Linked DNA regions of Homo sapiens: region 1 is linked to region 2. Evidence: promoter capture Hi-C in 16 types of primary human blood cells and fetal thymus (Javierre and others, 2016). All regions are on one chromosome and are shown on one strand. The core of a region is centred on a gene start or on the middle of the fragment in contact, and the rest is flanking DNA. Distances in the headings are between cores, read along the strand shown. Region 1 holds the start of ZNF789 (zinc finger protein 789). Region 2 holds the start of BAZ1B (bromodomain adjacent to zinc finger domain 1B).

Evidence for each region. Contacts are between HindIII fragments. The CHiCAGO score rates a contact against its expected background, and 5 or more counts as called.
Region 1: the fragment with the promoter of ZNF789 here is called in contact with the fragment with the promoter of BAZ1B in region 2 in 1 of 17 cell types (total B cells); the score reaches 5.2 in total B cells.

The regions. Positions count from the first base shown.
Region 1 is chr7:99,471,241-99,474,213 of GRCh38, forward strand. It overlaps ZNF789 (zinc finger protein 789), which reads left to right and starts at 1,650. Exons shown (of 5, transcript NM_213603.3): 1 at 1,650-1,816. RefSeq lists enhancers at 890-1,049, 1,270-1,359, 1,650-1,939. The HindIII fragment of the contact is 10,687 bases long and covers 1-2,334 here.
Region 2 is chr7:73,521,003-73,523,702 of GRCh38, forward strand. BAZ1B (bromodomain adjacent to zinc finger domain 1B) reads right to left here and starts at 1,291. Exons shown (of 20, transcript NM_032408.4): 1 at 825-1,291. The coding sequence starts at 931. RefSeq lists silencers at 535-1,414, 1,765-1,904 and an enhancer at 1,475-1,634. The HindIII fragment of the contact is 2,091 bases long and covers 1-1,952 here.

The sequences.
Region 1 (2,973 bases), core at 400-2,899, about 26 Mb after region 2:
TAAAGAAAATGTGGTACAAATACACCATGGAATACTAAGCAGCCACAAAAAGGAATGAGATCCTGTCCTTTGCAGGGACATGGATGAAGCTGGTGGCCATCAGCCTCAGCAAACTAACACAGGAACAGAAAACCAAACACAGCATGTTCTCATTCATAAGTGGGAATTGAATATTGAGAACGCATGGACACAGAGAGGGGAACAACACACACCTGGGCCTTTTGGGGAGTCGGGGGTAAGGGGAGGGAACTTAGAGGATGGGTCAATAGGTGCAGCAAACCACCATGGCACATGTAACAAACCTGCACGTTCTGCACGTGTATCCTGTTTGTTTTGTTTTGTTTAGAAGAAATAAAAAACAAACAAAACTTGGGAGGCCAAGGCAGGCGGATCACTTGAGGTCAGGAGTTCGAGACCAGCCTGGCCAAAATGGTGAAACCCCGTCTCTACTAAAAACACACACACAAAAAAAATTAGCCGGGAGTGGTAGCGGGCGCCTGTAGTCCCAGCTACTCAGGAGGCTGACGCAGGAGAATGGCGTGAACCCGGGAGGCGGAGCTTGCAGTGAGCCGAGATCGCGCCACTGCACTCCAGCCTGGGCGAGAGCGAGACTGTCTCAAAAAAAAAAGAAAAAAAATTAACCCCTTACTCACATTAAAACTGTATTTTGGGGGTAATTTACATAAGCCACACAATTATCCTTTTAATTAAGATCTAATATTCTTTTTTTTTTTTTTGAGACAGAGTCTCGCTCTGTCGCCAGTCTGGAGTGCAGTGGTGGGATCTCGGCTCACTGCAAGCTCCGCCTCCCGAGTTCAAGTGATTCTCCTGCCTCAGCCTCCCGAGTAGCTGGCACTACAGGCACGCCGCCACCATGCCCAGCTAATTTTTTTTTTTTTTTTTTTTTTTTTGAGACGGAGTCTCGCTCTGTCACCCAGGCTGGAGTGCGGTGGCGCAATCTCGGCTCACCGCAACCTCCGCCTCCCGGGTTCAAGCGCTTCTCCTGCCTCAGCCTCCCGAGTAGCCGGGGTTACAGGCAGGCACCACCATGCCCGGCTAATTTTATTTGTATTTTTAGTAGAGACGGGTTTCTCCATTGTTGGTCAGGCTGGTATCGAACTCCCGACCTCAGGTGATCCACCCGCCTCGGCCTCCCAGAGTGCTGGGATTACAGGCGTGAGCCACCGCGCCCGGCAATTTTTTTGTATTTTTAGTAGAGAAGGGGTTTCACCATGTTGGCCAGGATGATCTAAATCTCTTGACCTGATCCGCCGGCCTCTGCCTCCCAAAGTGCTGGGATTACAGGCGTAAGCCACCGCGCCTGGCCCATTTTTCTTCTTTTATCTGATAACCTTACTCCCCTCCACAAACACACAGCCAAAGAAACGAATTGTGTCGCTCTTGAATCATAGAATAATTCTAAATTATGTTACGATTAAACAGGAGGGGCGGGGCCCTGTCCATCACGTGACTCTCTCGGTGCTGTCTCCGGCCGTTGATTGGCCTGGGCGGGGAGGGCGGCCGTTGATTGGTTCGGGCCCACTCGCGCGGGCGCCACTCTCTTTGTCTGACAAGAGAGTCGTGAAGCCTCCGCGGTCCTAGAGGGGCCGCTGGCTGGGACGCTTCGCTCGGCGCGCGCAGGTGGAGCCAGCGAGAGGCTCTGAGGCTGCCAGAGTGGTTGTGTCTGTTCCTCCGGTAAGGGGTGATTCGCCGAGGGGCGCGGACCAGACAGACCTCGGGTCAGGCCCGGGAACCCCGAGAGGAGAGCCCAGCCCCTGGTGGAGGCGGCTTGGCGGAGATTCGGAGCCGTCAGCAGGTTTGGGGAGAAGGAAACGAGTGTTGTGGGGGGCGTGGGTGCGGGGGGTAGGCCACTGCGCACACCCCCGGCTCGCAGGGGACGCTCCGGGTTTGTGCGGCGGCTCTCGGGGCCTGTGGCACCAGCTTTTGAGTATTTTTGGCGGTGTCAAGTCTTCGGCAGCGAGAGGAGCAAAGTCCGAAGAATGAATGGATGGTGAACGCCTGGACTTGGTTTTGTTAGAGTGGGAGATGAGCCGTGGTTGTTAGTGGAAGGTGTTCACGTGATTGTGAAGCGGCATTTTGGATTTTGTCAAAAGTTAACAGTCCCCTCCAGTTAAAGTTTTAAGAGTTTATTGTGCATGCAGAGGAACAGCTGGCAAATTGTTCCAATGGCAGCTTGGAAAGCTAAATGAGGAAGTGCAGTGATCTTGATTGTAATTGGCCATTATCAACTTGCATTCCTTCTAGGGTAAGTCGAGCTGGATCAGCCTCGCATCTGTAGCTGATTGGTTCAGTTTATCATGCGGACGAGAAAAAAGCTTCTTTCCTGGTCAGCGCACACTTTTCAGGGAAATAAGGAATTGTTGTTGCTGTTGTGTTTGAGACGAAGTGTTACTCTGTTGCCCAGTTTGGAGTACAATGGGCCAATCTCGACTCACTGCAACCTCCAACTCCCGGGTTCAAGCGATTCTCCTGCCTCAGCCTCTCGAGTAGCGGGGACTACAGGCACGCGCCACCATGCCCGGCTAATTTTTGTATTTTTAGTGGAGACTGGGTTTCACTATGTTGGCCAGGCTGGTCTTGAACTCCTGACCTCATGATCCGCCCGCCTCGGCCTCCCAAAGTGCTGGGATTTACAGGTGTGAGCCACCACGCCCGGCCTGTTGTTTTTAAGAGAGACAGGGTCTTGCTCTGTCACCCAGGGTGGAGTGTAGTGGTGCCATCATAGCTCATTGCAGTCTCCAACTCCTGAACTCAAGGGAGAAATCAATGTATTTTAAATGCCTTACATGGCTGTGGGTGGTTGGCCTAGGGCCGTACCCAAAACATGGACTCCATTTAATTTTTCATTAGCAAGTCTGACATTCAGATGCACAGCCTTCACAAACACATTCAGTAAATATAGTGCAGGGGTGTCCAATCTCTTGGCTTCCCTGGGCCACATTGGAAGAAGAA
Region 2 (2,700 bases), core at 41-2,540:
TTATGCAAGAAATCTTAGTCATGACGAGAGGATGCTTCCTTTGTAAAACATCCAATTTCATGTTCCTAAAATACAACATAAAAACTTCACGTCTTGGTTTTTTTGTTTGTTTAATTTTAACAAATACCAATCTCCTTCTAAACCTTCAAAATTTCAAACCTGTGTCTGCCCAGGGAAGGCAGGCATCAGCTCCTCCACAGGCAGTTTCCTTCCCTCCCTTTCCTCTAAGCGGGGAATCTCATTCCTAGTTTTCTGCCCCAGGGTCCTGTCAGTTCATCCCCGGCCTAAAGTCCCCTCGGGAGACGAAAAAAACGCCAAGTATCCCCGCAGAGATCGGGGTAAGACGCAGTTGAGTCTTGCACACGCCGCATCACGAGGCCGCGCGAGTACAATTTCAAAACTTAAGCTGCAGGTTTCATTTAAATTTTTAAAAAATTTTTGTAAAAATTAAAGGAGAAAACCTAGCTCCCCCTCCCCACGCCTCCTCCTCCCTCTCGGGTCCTCAAGGCCTAAAGCCAACCCGGGGAAGGTAATGGGGATGGGGGATGCGCTCCTCGCCGGCGAGGCCCCGGGACAAAGTGCGGGGCCCCGGGGGCGGCCGAAGCGGGCCCTTCTCCTTCCAGGGCCGGTGCGCGCCCCCCGCCGGATCCCCTGGAAGGATCGGCGGGCGCAGGCTGAGACTCAGCCTCCAGGCCCGCGAGCGGCCGGGGCGCGCTGACAGCTGCCCCGGGCCGGGGATGCGCGGCTGACCTGGTCTCGCGAGCCCCAGGCCCTACCCCGGCCCAGCCCGGCCCAGCCCGGCCCGCGCGGCTGGAAAAGGATACTCCCGGGTGCGGAAGGCCTCCTGAGTGTGCGGGATGGTGAAGAGCGGCTCCTCTCCGGGCAACGGCTTCACCAGCGGGAAGGGCTTGCGGCCCAGGAGCGGCGCCATCGCGGCGGCGGCGGTGGGGACTGGCGGCTGCTGGGGCCGGCCCCGCGGCGCAGCACTAGGCCCCGCGGCCCGGAGCGAGCGCCAGGCGCCCGGGGGTGGGGTGGGGGAAGGGAGGGGTGAGAGGGCGGCGCGAACTCCGGCTCCCTCACCGCCGGCGCGGCCGCGCGACAGTCATGGAGCGGAACGCCACGGCGCAGAGCTCCCGCGCACACCGCCGCGCCTCCCAGCAGCCCCCCGCCGACCTCCGCTTCGGGTCCCGGCGGCCGGCAGTCACGACTCCTCCTCAGCAGCACCGGAGGAAATTATTGAAAAATGGCGGGAGATTCCCCTCCTCCCCCGGGCCCGGCCAACGCACACACTAACTTGCTCCCCCGTGGCGCCGGTGGCGAATGCTCCAATAGGCGGAGAGCTGGTCAGCGCTCACAGCCTATTGGCTCGGAGGAGCTGCCGCTCCGCGCCTGGGTCCCGCCCCCCTGCCCCTGTCGCGTAGTTGGGTTGCAGCGCACTAGAGGGCAGTCTGAAGAGGTGAAAGGTCACGTTATGTAAGCGCCCGTGATAGGCGTGCGGGCCTCCGACGGCAGAGTTAAAAGTGGGGGACAGCGGGGGATGGAGAGGACGAGAACTCAAAGAGGTCAAGCCGGAGAAGCCCCTCGCATATACAGATACTGCGCCATCTGTCACCGACGGCGACACCGACATCCGGGCACCACTGTCCGTGTGGTGCGCCGGAGGGGGAGGGTGAGCGCGCGGCCAGGGGCTTTGTCTTTCCTCTTGGGCGCCTCCCCCTTCTTAAAGGCGCCGTGCTCGGCCACGCCCGGGGATGCGCGGGTGGGGCTGGGCTGCAGGGAGGGGTTGGCGGGAAGTGGCCCCGGGAGCTTACCCTACCAAAGGTTCTGCGGAAGGACAACGTGGGGGCCAGCTTTGCTCACCCCAGAGTTAACTTCTGGGCGGGAGTGTGGTTGAGATCTGGGTAGAAGTATACTGCTTGTTTCTAGGGGCTGGCTGGAAAGTAGAATATAGAAGCTTCTTTGGAGAAATAGATTAAAAGACGTACTTAGTTTTTTGGTTTTTGGTTTTTGTTTTTTTTGAGACGGAGTCTCGCTCTGTCGCCCAGGCTGGAGGGCAATGGCGCGATATCGGCTCACCGCAACCTCCGCCTCCCGGGTTCAAGAGATTCTCCTGCCTCAGCCTCCCAAGTAGCTGGAATTACTGGCGTGCACCACCACGCCCGGCCAATTTTGTATTATTAGTAGAGACGGGGCTTCTCCATGTTGGTCAGGCTGGTCTCAAACTCCCGACTTCAGGTGATCCGACCGCCTAGGCCTCCCAAAATTATCATTATTTTTTTTTTTGAGACGGAGTTTCACTCTTGTTGCCCAGGCTGGAGTGCAGTGGTGCAGTCTCGGCTCACTGCAACCTCTCCCTCCCGGGTTCAAGCTATTCTCTTGCCTCGGCCTCCCGAGTAGCTGGGACTACAGGTGCGCGCCACCACACCCGGCTATTTTTTGTATTTTGTAGAGACGGGGTTTCACCATGTTGGTCAGGCTGGTCTCGGACTCCTGATCTCAGGTGATCCACCCGCCTCGGCCTCCCAAAGTGTTGGGATTACAGGCGTGAGCCACCACGCCCTGCCAGAGCTGTGACTCTGGCTTTTTTTTTTTTTCTCCCATGATACTCAGCACCTGGCTCGGAACATTGTAGGTGCTAGTGAATACTATTTGAATGAATTGGATCTACCTTTTATTTTTTATTTTTTTTGTAGAGACAGG